2 separate regions of the Homo sapiens genome follow, and region 1 is linked to region 2. Evidence: promoter capture Hi-C in 16 types of primary human blood cells and fetal thymus (Javierre and others, 2016). All regions are on one chromosome and are shown on one strand. Each heading gives the region's core, a stretch centred on a gene start or on the middle of the fragment in contact. The rest is flanking DNA. Distances are from core to core; before and after follow the strand shown. Region 1 overlaps CHRM3 (cholinergic receptor muscarinic 3). Region 2 holds the start of CHRM3-AS1 (CHRM3 antisense RNA 1).

What was found. The method cuts DNA at HindIII sites, captures the fragments that hold promoters and counts their contacts. A CHiCAGO score of 5 or more calls a contact.
Region 1: a fragment that was not itself captured here is called in contact with the fragment with the promoter of CHRM3-AS1 in region 2 in 2 of 17 cell types (M1 macrophages and M0 macrophages); the score reaches 6.9 in M1 macrophages.

What each region holds. Positions count from the first base shown.
Region 1 is chr1:239,559,196-239,565,768 of GRCh38, forward strand. All of the region lies in intron 3 of CHRM3 (cholinergic receptor muscarinic 3), which reads left to right. Among named protein-coding and RNA genes, the nearest start is that of CHRM3-AS2, 160 kb to the right of the region's middle. The HindIII fragment of the contact is 4,369 bases long and covers 1-4,244 here.
Region 2 is chr1:239,895,257-239,902,035 of GRCh38, forward strand. CHRM3-AS1 (CHRM3 antisense RNA 1) reads right to left here and starts at 4,616. Exons shown (of 2, transcript NR_046582.1): 1 at 4,508-4,616; 2 at 2,763-3,136. The region is part of intron 6 of CHRM3 (cholinergic receptor muscarinic 3); the gene reads left to right. The HindIII fragment of the contact is 7,774 bases long and covers 2,932-6,779 here.

The DNA.
Region 1 (6,573 bases), core at 810-3,309, 340 kb before region 2:
AGCAAAGCAGGCTGTCTCTATTATTCACAGTCTATAGGAGCTATTGGTAACCAGTTGATGCTGTGAGCCTGAGTCAGGATCATATTTCTTGGGTTCATCAGTTTATTTGTCCAATCTGAGAATCTCTACAGTGTACTTCCTAAAAGTATGTTCTGACATGCCCTTGAGTACTTAAATCCTTGTGTTTAAAATTGAATCTCTCATTTCAGCTTAACCTTGACCATATAAAACACATTTTCCCTAATTGCTTCATTTCAGTCAAGAATATTTAATCGAATGCCAACAACTGACAGTTCAACCACTACATCAAACTTTAAACCCAAATTCGGAGGGGCTAATTTTTAAAATATCAAATATGCCTCATAAGATTTCAGGGAAAGTTAGGACGAATTTCAAGAGAGAGCCTGATGATGGCTTTAACCTCAAAACTAAGACATTATTGTTAGTTGCGAGAAGCTGGCCAATATTTCTTGTACCTGAATTGATTAAATTGTTACATGTTATTAGATGATGGTGACAACCTACAACTTGTTAAGGATACATAGTGCGTTAATTGTATAACTCCACATCTACATAACACTATACCACTGGAGTTATGGAATTAATGCCCTGTCCAGGATCTTACCCTTCTTGTTATCGCAGGACCCAATTCTTGCACAATTGATCATTTCCAAGGTGTTATCAAAATTAACCTTTAAGGTGAAACAATACATTGTATGGCTATTGTCCATTTATTTTGGCATTGACCGCAGTAGATGTCACATTGCAATTTTTCAAATAAAATTCAGAGTGATAGATGGACTAACTACATACCACTTATTCATAATAAAATATACAAATGATGAAGTATGGCATTTTGTGTGCAAAATTATCTGGGGCAAAAAATATATGTGTGTAAAACACAGGAAAAAGTATTGAGAAATTTGTGTTTGATAAGTATTTTTAAATACCACTATTTAGGCAAATTAATTAGAAAATATATCAATACTTTCAGATTCTCAGTAACTTTACAATAATGTTAGGAAATTAAGTGAAATATTGTTAAAGTATTTTTGCTACATCTTTCTTTAGTGTCTTCAGCTGTTTTATTGCAACTCATACGCTGATGTTTTTTAATGATATTTCTTTTTATGGTCATTAATTTTTCCATATGTTGTAATCTTAAAAATACAAAAAATGCAAAAACAATACAAAACACCTATAATCTCACCACTGAAAAACTCCAAAGTAATTCTTACAAATATTTTTATACTTTAGACTTAGGTAATTTATATATTTGCACAAATGTGTGATCACATTCCTCATACCTCTTCATAGTATAACAATACATTCCCATTTTTACATTTCTCTAAGTATTATTCTAAAATATACTTCCAAGGATACGTAACATTGTATCGTATGAATGTACCAAAATTTATTTATCCCATATTTAGTTTCTTTTCATTCATTCTGTATTGCAACTTTAAATATATATGTGTGTATATATATATATGTGTGTGTGTATATATATATCCTGGCATGTAAATCTTTGACTGTGTCTGGGTCCATTTTCCCCATATGTCAGCTCCATCCGTGACCCCTAAAATTCAGGTTCCACACAACAAGGATGACATCTTTACTTGAATGCCTAACAAGTGGCTCTAAATTAACATGTCCAAAACAGAACTCTAGGTTTTCCCACACCTCCCCCAAACTTGTTTCTCCCCCATCTGTCTCATCTCCCTTTCCCAGGCTTCACTCCTTCCCCAGATCTAGGCAAAAGCATAGGTGTTATTTTCCTCCTTTCTTCATTCCCCACATTCAGTTCCTTAGTCGGTTTTATTGAATCAGTCTCAGAACACATCCCACATCTGCCTCCTTCTTTGTGACTCTGCAGGCACCATCTGGTTCATCTCAACTTGCCTGGACCAGTGTAGGTAGTAACCTTTCACCTGTTTTCCGCAGGACCACTCTTGTGCTGTCCTTAATCAGTTATCTGCAGAGTCATGATGTGATTGTCCAAGACAAGAAATTCAGTTAATGTCACATGACATTAACGTAACATAACACTCCTTTGCTTAAAATCCTACAGGGGCTTTCAAAATACCTTAATAAAATCTATACTCTCATTTGTGGCTTGCGGAGCCCTGTATGGCCATTGCCCAGAAGTTCCCCTTCATCTCGTCTCACCTTCCTCTTTCACTACATATGTAATCTACCAGACTACCTTCTCCTGGTCCTCGTGGGCTGAGATGCTATTTTCTCAGATTATGGTTGCCTCCTGTTTTTTATTCAAGATTCACTGGAAGTTCCATCTCCTCTTAGCAGCTTCCTGCCTATTGACTATGAAATGAGCACCCTCATCGTTCTTAAACAGAGCTTTACATTTTCTTCTCTTCATAAAGAATATTATATATTAAGAATAGATAATAGTAATAGTATCTATTAATAGATACTATCAATATCTATAACAGATAATCAAAAGATTGTTAATATTAATACCATCTATTAATAGATAATATTACTGATAATTAATAATTGTTTATCATATATTTCCTCATTAGCATGTAAACTCTATGAAAAGTAGAGAAAATACCTGGACTCTTGTTCACTTTCTTCTCAGAACCTAGAAATGTCCTTATCACATAGTAGACACTAAATATTTACTAAATGAAAAAATATATCCTTGAAGATTTACTAGTATAAATGGTGTAAACAGAATTTCTTGGTGAAGAAAAATTTTTAGGTTTTTGCCTTATAATTTACCATCTCCATCCTTCCAAGATACCAATTTTCTTTCCCGTCGTCCATTGTACGGGAGGGCCAAGGTTGCTGCACCTGCTGGCCAACCTTGCATACGTAAATTTTGTTTTGACGGTTCAGGATACAATGTTTGACAATTGTTTTAATTGTCATGTTGGCATCTACTAATGAGGCTAAAACATTTTGAAATTTAAGACATCTTTCTCGACAGCAACCACAATCATTTCTGATCAGTCCGTGCAGGCCATGTGTACCTGATGACTTCTGAAACAAAGGGGAAGGGGAAGGGAGGCATGTGTTAGAGACAATACCCAGTTATCTGTGTTTACACTTCAGTATTCGCACATTTCAAGTCACGTGATCCCTCATAACAACTTTACAAAATGGATAAGAGATATCCCCCTTTTTTCAGATAAAGAGCTGGCTTCTGAAAGGTTATGCATCGTGGAGCTAATAAGTTATAGAACTGAAATCTAAACTCGTGGCTGGTGGATGCCAAAGCCCAAACTGTTAACACTTCACCATAAAAATAAAAGGATTGTCTCTATCATTTCTATCATTCAAACTTCCTGAGACTTAATGGTAAAGTTTTCATGTATTTCCTGGATAGTAGTGTTCTATTTAGATGATGATGATGATGATTATTATTATTATTATTTTTAAAGCGTTGGGTCAGGCTTGGTGGCTCACGCCCATAATCCCAGCGCTTTGGGAGGCTAAGGCAGGTAGATCATGAGGTCAGGAGTTCAACACCAGCCTTGTCAACATAGTGAAACCCCATCTCTACTAAAAATACAAAAATTAGCTGGGCGTGGTGGCTGACGCCAGTAATCCCAGCTACTGGGGAGGCTGAGGCAGGAGAATCACTTGAAACTGGAAGGTGGAGGTTACAGTGAGCCGAGGTCGCGCCACTGCACTCCAGCCTGGGCAAAAGAGTGAAACTCTGTCTCCAAAAAAAAAAAAAAAAAAAAGGTGTTATTCATTTTAGACAGGACTTATGTTTTTCACCATGTAAAGAAAAATGTTACAGGTAGCGAAATGGAATAAACTGAAATTCATCACGTATATAGGCAAAGAAACAGTACACTGCTGTTGGAAGTTTCAACAAACCTTTTATTTATGCCATTAATATAATCATTATTATAATTCACACAGATGGGATTTATATTATCCTCTAGAAATGTTTACAGCTTCAGAGGTTTCACTGCCTTCTCAAGAAGAACAATGTTTTCTTTATTCTGAAGTTGGTGTAGGGCAACAAGGAAAGAGACCAAGAGATACATCCAGGTGCACATTTTTTTCTCTTAGTTTATATAATCAAAATTTGTTTGTTTCTAAGAATAAGGAGATCATCACAGAAATGGTTTACCCCAAGTCAGGAAGACAAGGTCAGCTCAGAGTGGGCATAAAATTGCTTAAAGCATCTCAGATAGCTAATGTAATAGTGATTTATCAGAATGTCCCTAAAATGACCAATATTTGGGGACAGTAAGAATGGCTAAAGCTTAAAAAAAATGTAAAAGAGGCTTGAGTTACCTTTCTACTGGTTCTCCAAATATATGATATTTTCATTGTTGCTATTTTTAAATCTAAAAGATTTTTCAATAATCATGAAGAATTCCAAATAGGTTCACAGAATCTAGATTTTTTTTGTTTGTACTACAGCAGCGATTTGTTTCAAGAGAAGGAGACAAAATTTCAATGGAAAAGTTGTGCTTTGTGAATTTAGTTAAAGAGATGTGGATGTAATGAACCAAGGGGTCTCTTTATTTATGGTTACTCTGCAGAGGTAAGTACTCATCTGACGAGAGGCTATTTGTAGGAAGCTAATTTAGAGTAGAAACAAATAGTTGTGAAAAATGAGGAAATCCTGCTGGGAAAAAAAAGTGTGGCAGGATCACATGAAATAAGAGTTTTGGAGTAATTTACTATTCTAGGAAATCCAGCAGCTGGTTTGTCTAAAGAGTTCCTCTTTTTCATGAACACTGGAATAAGGACAGGAAATGGTTCAAAAGCATGCTGCCTTTCCTGTAACAGATTTCTGTAAAAATTTAATAGCAAAAAATAATTTTTAGAAGCTCAAGATTTTGATGTTTCCGAGATTCTTTAATGAGACAATGTGTGTATTTCTAACTTTGGTTACTTAGAAGTTTTGGTAGAATGAAGAATTTTGAATAAAGATAAGAGGAAACAAATTTCTGTTTATGTCATTCATAAAACATGTACGGTATTGAATTCAAAACTTAGTTTTACAGAGTGATGAAAATTTTTATCTAAGCATTGAGAAAATAATAAACCTAATGTAAAGTAGAACATATATTACATTTTGTAAAACTGCATTTAATTCTTCCAAATAAGGAAATAGAGGAACTGATGCAAATAAGAGATAAGATATCCAAAAGATAAGAGAACTGGAATGGAAAAAGTAAGCATGCTTAAATCACGCAATTTAAAATTATATCTAGAGGGAGCCTGGAAGAATATTTTAATGGAGTTAATTACCTGCGTGAGGATTATCTTTTGTATTTTAATTATCCCAATATATTTAAATGTAATCTCTTTATTAAGTATCACAAAGAAAAACATTTCTATTTTTCTGGGTACAGAGAAACTAATTATTCCATTCAAAATACTACCTAAGGGTTTAAAACTATTTTCCTGTCTCGTGGTTATTAATAGAACCATATATCTTAACCACTGCAACCAACTATAGTTTTTAGGTAACAAATTGTATTTTTCATTGGAATTTTTGCCTTTTTCTTACCCCACAGTCATTAAGGAGACACAGCTAGGAAAAAGTATGTGAAAACACTTTTAAGGGTATACACTATTCAGATAAGATTCTCCTTGATCCTAAATTGCACTTGAAGTTTGGAGGGAAAAAATAATAAAATGCCATGTACTTATTTCCTATTGCAACTCTAACAAAAGACCACAAACTTGGTGGCTTAGAATGGCAGAAATTTATTCTAACAGATATGGAGGACAGAGGCCAAAATCAAGCTTTTAACAGGGCTGTGCTGTCCCCGGAGGCTCCAGGGGAGAATCCTTTCCTTGCCTCTTCCCGCTTCTGGTGGTTGTGGCGCTCCTTAGCTCCTGACTGTGTCACTCCAGTCTCCGCTTCCATATTCAATATTGCCTTCTCCCCTATGGGGCGGGGTCAGATCTCCCTCTTATGAGGATACACGTGATGACCATCAGGGACCACTTGGATAATTCGGGATAATCTCCCCACCTCAAGATCCTTAGTTAATTACATCTGCAAAGACCCTTTTTCCAAATAAGGTTAACATTTATAGATTCTAGGGATTAGGATCCTGGATGGGCCCTAATAATTAGGACCATGATTCATCCTACTACTTGCTGCAACATATAGTATCCGATTCTCAAGTAGCTTTAAATCTACTGCAGTATGAGGACTATATTGGAATGTAGGTGCTAACTAGAGTTAAATATAATCAAAGTTGCTGTGACTGTAATAGTTCAGGAGGGAAGGTATTTTGGGTGAAAATAATGGCTCTTTACCCCAGATGCTGCATCTGGTCTCAATTATTGAAGTCATACTATGAAACTGTGTTGTTCTGTGCTAATTAAACGTAGGAATTAATTTTTAAATGTTTCGGCAAAAATAGATTTCTTTTATTAGGAATTTATTTTTTAAGATTTATTGACATATTTTACTTAAATTGTCCTTGTGATCTATATTGGAAGCAGTTTAGAATAGTTGCATTTAGTCTTTTTAAAAGTTTCACAATTAGATGAATAATTCTCTTTGTTTTGTTTCTGGTTATAATTTTCTTCACCTTCAGGCAATTTGTTAACATGGTGAAG
Region 2 (6,779 bases), core at 3,366-5,865:
TCGTTTCTTGGGTCCATCCCTCCCGAGTGCCACTGGGAGAGTTTGGGAGAAAGCCCGAATTTGTTTCTCAGCCCTCCTTCCAGCTGCCTCTGCAGTCTCCAGTCCTCTGCTCTCCATCCTTCCAAGTTACTGCTCATCGGACACAACCTCCATTCCTGCCTTTTCACAGATCTTGCTTTCTCGAGCCCTTCTGTTACTGGTTCTCCCATCCAAAGGGTAACTATTACAAATTGTTCTACCCTATAGACACATACATGCATATGTTTATTACAGCACTGTTCACAATAGCAAAGACATGGAATCAATCAACCTAAATGCCCCTCATCAATAGATTGGATTTTTTTTAAATGTAGTACACATACACTGTGGAATACTATGCAGCCATAAAAAATGAGATCATGTCCTTTGCAGCAACATGGATGAAGCTGAAAGCCATTATCCTAAGCAAAGTAATGCAAGAACAGAAAACCAAACACGGCGTGTTCTCACTTATAAGTGGGAGCTGAGCATTGAGTACACATAGACACAAAGAAGGGAACAACATATACCAGGGCCATACATGAGTGTGGAGGGTGGGTGGAGGGAAAGGATTGAAAATCTCCTGTTGGGTACTATGCTCATTACATGAGTGACAAAATAATCTGTAAACCAAACCCCCACAACACATAATTTACCTATGTAACAAACCTGCCCATGTACCCCTGAACCTCGAGGTTAAAAAACAACAACAAAATGTAACTATTCATCTCAATTAAAACAGAGTAGAGGCAATCGTTCTAGGTCTGCTCTGGGAAAGACATTTATGCTAACTCTCAAGGCACAAACTTGAGTAGGTGAAGATGAAAGTGTCCCTCCGGGGTCTGTGCCGTCCTGGGAGAGACACAGTGAAGTGCTCTGTGAGGTAACAGGAATATGTGCAGAGTGCATCGGGGACATAGGCTCTTCCCTCTGTTTGGAATGCTGTGTCCTCTCTTGACTACATGGCAGCTTGGAGTCTTATTCCTCAAGACTCACAAAATGTCCTTATCTTTGCTACCACCACATCAACTCAAGCAAAGCTAATCATCTATACTGCTCCTTCCACTGCAATTATTTTGTTTAGTTCATGGCATTGCCAACAAGTGGTTTTCCAGAACAAGAACCACATCCCCAGTCTAAGCCTTGTAGGCAGTACTCAAACACATTTACTGTGTGAAATAATGATTGAAGAGTTGAACACGTGAATATGAGATTCCTTTTTTGCTGGGTGGGTGAAGAATGTGATTTCCAGAGAAGTGGGACCTGATTCTTGAAGAGATGTGGAGTTTGCCTCATTAATTAGTATCAGGACATTTTCCTGGTTTTCCTGAGAAACACAACTCTACATTTTTCTGGGTCTGTATGATCTCCCTTTAGAGCAGGGTTTCTCAGCTTCGGCACTATCAACATCTTAGCAGCCTTAATTCTTTGTGGGGAGCTGTCCTGTGCATTGTAGGATGTTTATCAGCATTGATAGCGTCTGCCTACTATATGTCAGTAGCACATTTTCCCCAGGTTGTGACAAGAAAAGTGGCTCCAGACATTGCCCAATATCCCCTAGGGCAGAGTCACCCTGGGTTGAAAACCACTGCTTTATACTCAACAAATGTTAGCTCTTGTTAGGCATGAAAAAGACCTTGCTGTAAAGTCAACCAGCCATAGAAAAATTATGGAATTGATTTTACCATTTTTGAGAAACTGCTGTGGGCCAGTCAGGCTATACTGGGTGCTTTATACAGATTCTATTTCATCCTCAAGTATTATAATCCTCATTTTGTAGATGAGGATGTAGGATCAGAGTGCCTAGGCAATGTGCCCACGTGGCAGAATCGGGTGTACTTCCTGGCCCTGCATGCTATGGCAGGTTGTTAGGCGTTTAATGCGCGCCTCCCACATTGCTTCTACTCTCTTTGCAAATATACAGTTCTATCTGCGTGCATGAGTTGGGGCGTGCAAATAGGCTGAAGTCTGAAGGGAAATCAGATGTGTGGAACATGTCCAGATATAAAAATAAATACTCTGATAAATATGGACCTGGAAAAAAAAAGCGATCACGAGTCTAACTTAATCATGAAAGCATAAATATTAAGCCAAAGGAATTTTCTTCACCAGGTGTCCTTTCAGTACCTAAACTGACATATTAGAAATATTTAGTCCAAATGACTGTTTTCACTAGATTTTTCATCAGAATAACTTCCACAGTTATATTAGATCAGCTGGTATTTTAAAAGCACTGTTCTTTATCCTCCACTATAAAGGCACAGTATTAAAAACACATAATAATAAATACCTCTTTAAAATGTTGAACAGTAATCAGCAAATCTGTTTGCAGTGGAACAGAATCCAGCTGCACTCTTTCCCTGTTTCTCTCAGAAAAGAGTAACTTCAGCAACAAGGAGTCTGCCCTTTCTGGGTGAAGGGGTCATACTAATATTTAACAAGAACCTCTCCCGCCTGCTTTTCACTTCGTGCCATTTCTTTAGATATTCTAATGACAAAAGGTTTTAGACTTGCGAGTGCTAATGCAAGGAAACATCAGTCGAATCTAGGTTTTTGTTTTTGAGGAAAAACTGTTATTTCAGCAGCTACTGCTACACGTAAGAGGTCCTGATGCAAATCCTTTTCCAAGCACCCTGCATTGTTGTTGTCAAGGTCCATATTTATCAAATCAAGTAAAAACCCATGAAAAGTGGCAACCGAGGGAGGAGGCAGCAAGATAAATCAACTTTCTAAAAAAAAAATTCCCCTTTTTAAATAGAATTTTATTCCGGTTTTGGTGTTCAGAGATGTTTTGTTCACAATAAGAGCCATTGCTCCATATTAGGTAACATCTTTTCCCCCTTGCAGCTTCAAATGAATATCAAGAGCCAGGTTCACAAGTTGGATTCCCTTTAAAGACACGTTTGATTGCAAAGCTTTGTTGACTCTGTTTGATATCCTCCGCGAACTGCATGACTGAGCTAAGCTGAAGTTCCTGGTCACCAGCATGGGGAACGGGTAGCTGCTTCAGCGCCTGCTGGCAGAGAGGTCGTTCTCCGAGTCTGCTTTGCCACCTAGTGGTTTGATGTGGTATTGCCATTCACCAGGTAGTTTTAAAAGTCATTTTAGCCGTTGAATGCTATAGTGAATTATGACAGAAAACAGAGACACTCTAAGCAAAGAAGGCAGTCAGAGACCCAAAACAAGCCCTGAAAAATGACGCAGACTGGATTACAAATAGGGAAGAGGCACTAAATAGTTGGTCTGAGAAAAAACGCACGGCTGTATGTTGCAAAGATATTTTGGGTTTTTCCCATATCATCACTTAAAAAAATAATTATTATTATAGACGTAGAATTAATTTAGACTTCTAGAAAAATTTATACGCTTTTAATTGGTTCAGCAGGTTTAAAAATCGAGAGCCCTCAAACATTTTTCCCAAGTAGGTACTGCCCGGTTGGCTCAGAGGACATGAAATGAGTTTATCTCCTTGGAATTCATTATAACCAGAAGCCTCACATGTATATTGGCCTTGTCCGTTTCTGTAAGCAATCTCACATGTATTTCACACTGGATATTTACACATTTTTAAATTTTTTAAATTTACCTATATATTTCACAGACTTATAACCCCAGAAAAGTTATTTTTTGCCATAACTAGGGGGAAGAAGGCAAATTTCCTAGAACTAACCTTCAATTTCTCCTAAATTCAGTACTGTCAAACTTTTTTGTCTTTTTTCACATTTTTTGTTTCACCCTCTTCTTTTAAATATTAATAAAAGATGTCAAAATATCCACTGCAGTGGCTTTCCAACATTATTCAACACAAAATACATTGTACGTACATCATGACTATAGACATAATTTTATACGTGTGTGTATGTCGAGCAAAAATTTAATGAAGTGATATTGATTGTCATTATGTGGTATGCATTCTGATACGTCCTATTCAATTTGCTGTACATTTTTTTCTTTTTTAATTCTCATATTGGCCCACTAATTGGCTCTTGCATTTTGAACTCAGTGTGTGTGTGTGTGTGTGTGTGTGTGTGTGTATATACACACACGCATATATATCTATTGAATTTAGTGTGTGTGTATATATACATAAATACATATATACATATATAAACACATATACATATACACACATATACATATATACACACATATCTATACACATGTATGTATATGATATGTATATACATACGTATATATGTGTGTATATATACTCACACACATGTATATATACACACATACCAAGTTCAAAATGCAACAGCCAATTAGCGGACCAATTAGTGTGTGTGTGTAGTGTGTGTGTATATATATAGTAAGTTCAACATGCAATGTATATATACACTAAGTATATGTACATTGTATATAAGTAAGTATACTAAGTACATAGTATATATACACGATATAAGTACACTAAGTATATCGTATATATATACTAAGTATATATACATACACACAGATGTAACTTCCCCACAAAGGCACTGATGGTACCCACGTGCAGGATCTTGCGCAGTTTTCCACTTCTTGCCTGAGCTCTGGTGCCTGGAACACTTCAGTAACCATTCCCTGAATGTTGCACCCACAACCTGGCAGGGAGGGAGCCTGCTCTGACCCCAGAGAGGAGCCAGGCACCTGCCCCTGGTCTGCCCCTATCTGACCATGCCCTGAGCCCTCATGCAGGCTGCATTCCTAGAACTCTTGCCTGGGATTACTTATAAAGTGCGAAGGTCACTGGGCTGACAAGGATCTCTGTTCCCACCACCTGTTTATTCCTGAGCATTACAAGGAAAGACTTCCTGTAGGTCCCCTCACCAATATCATTCAATTCAATGAGTGTAGACTGTGAACTTCCTTGACTCAAAATATCCTAATGCTATGGAATAGCTGTTGAGTCAGGATGAGGAAGGAATATTAAACATAGGAATGATACCTTCTACTCAGAAAATCACCGTAAACTGAGGGCTCTTAGCCCGGGGTTATCACTGCTTCATTTGGGTCTGACCTACAGTCTTGATTCTCAGGAAGTTACATATTACCTATGAAATAATAGATATACCTGAAGTAAAACATTTGGTGACTCTCATTTCTAATAAGTACTTTTAGATATTCTTTTTTTTTTTTTTTTTTGAAATCCTTATGACCGGCTGATCACTTTCTCCTGTTGTCATCCTGGGTACCGATAGGACCTCCGTTGCTGAGCCTCCAGAGAACAGTCCTTTTAATGAGGCCGTGGCCCCAAGGCCTCGGAGAAGTTCATAGAAAATGTCTGAAAGAAGGTGGGAGGGATCTTGTTTCCTGGCCCTATAGGGACATTGTCTTCCTTGATAAAGCTGGGTACAGCCTTGATATGAATAGATTGGGGAGCACCAGGAATGTACCTCACCTGGGCTGTCGAGAAAAGACAGTGTGCTCAGAAGAGGTATGGCAGGTGCTGAATATTCCCTTGGAGGGACGAAGGCAAGAAAGGCCCCTACAGCAATGAGGGGAGAAAATCCACAACCCAAGTAGAACTAGGATTTCTTATGTGTGAGACAATACATTGCTCATTTACATGTAAAGTGTGTATAATATTTTTAATCCATCGTATTCAGGCGAGCAAGATCAGTCATTTCATTTTTGTATAACTTGCCTCGAAGCTGCCTGTTGTGGCCCCATTCTGCATAGCAAATCACCACAAACTTAGCAGCTTACAACAAGGTTCCCTGTTCAGGGTCTCAACACTGAAATCAAGGTGTTCGCCCAGCTGAGTTTACGTCTTAGGCAAGACTAAGGAAGAATTCATTACCACAGGCATTCAGGTCATCGGTGCTTCTGCCATGGTGACCTAGTGACCTCTGAGCAGCTGCCACCTCTGGGCACCAGACAGGAGGGCATGAGGCACGCATCTTCTTTGAGTCTGATCAATATTATCAGATGCGACCTCTTTTTCCTCCAACCTTCTCCGCATTTAAAAGCAACAGCAGAGTGTAAGGCAAGATTCCAAGCCCTCCTTGGCAACCATCACCAATATCTGCCCCCTTTTAACTCTCTTCTTCACTTCCTTCTGGCTTCGGAAACTTTGGGATTTTTTTTTTTTTCCTCATTCGGGACATTACAGATTGAGCTGAAGTCTTCTTTGTCCATCACCCTCAATCCTAATTTTATCTTCCTCCTCCAAAATACCACTGCTAATATATGATTTGCATGTAAATCTTTCTATCCTTCTATGACAATTTTAATTATATTAATATACTAAAGGTGGTATCTGTCTATATGTCTGTATACAACCTTTAGTATACAGGCATGTACAATCTTTAGTATACTATTGCTGTGTTTTATTGTAAACTAAATTTTATCGTGTTGTATTTGTCATCCCACAACTTGCCTTTCTTACTTAACAAAGTATTTTTAGATGGTTCTAAGTTAATATATATCTAGTTGATTGCTTTTATCTGCTGCATAGTATTCCCTTTTATGAATGACCTCATTTTTGAATTCATTTCAAAACGAATGGTCTTATAGATTTTCCTCATTTTTGTCATAAAAATAAATGCTTCAGTTAATAGCCTTGGGCGTGTCTCCTTGTGTACATACGAATGCAATAATTTCTAGAGGGTAGATACCTAGCAGTTGGATTGCTAGTTCATGGTGTACATGCCTTTTCAGTTTTAATTAATACTTCCAAATCACCTTTTTGTAGTACTTATTATCAATTTATTCACTCTGGATGTGGCAAGGGGAGATTTTTCTTATTTTCCTAGTGTGTAGGTCAGTATACCATGCATTGA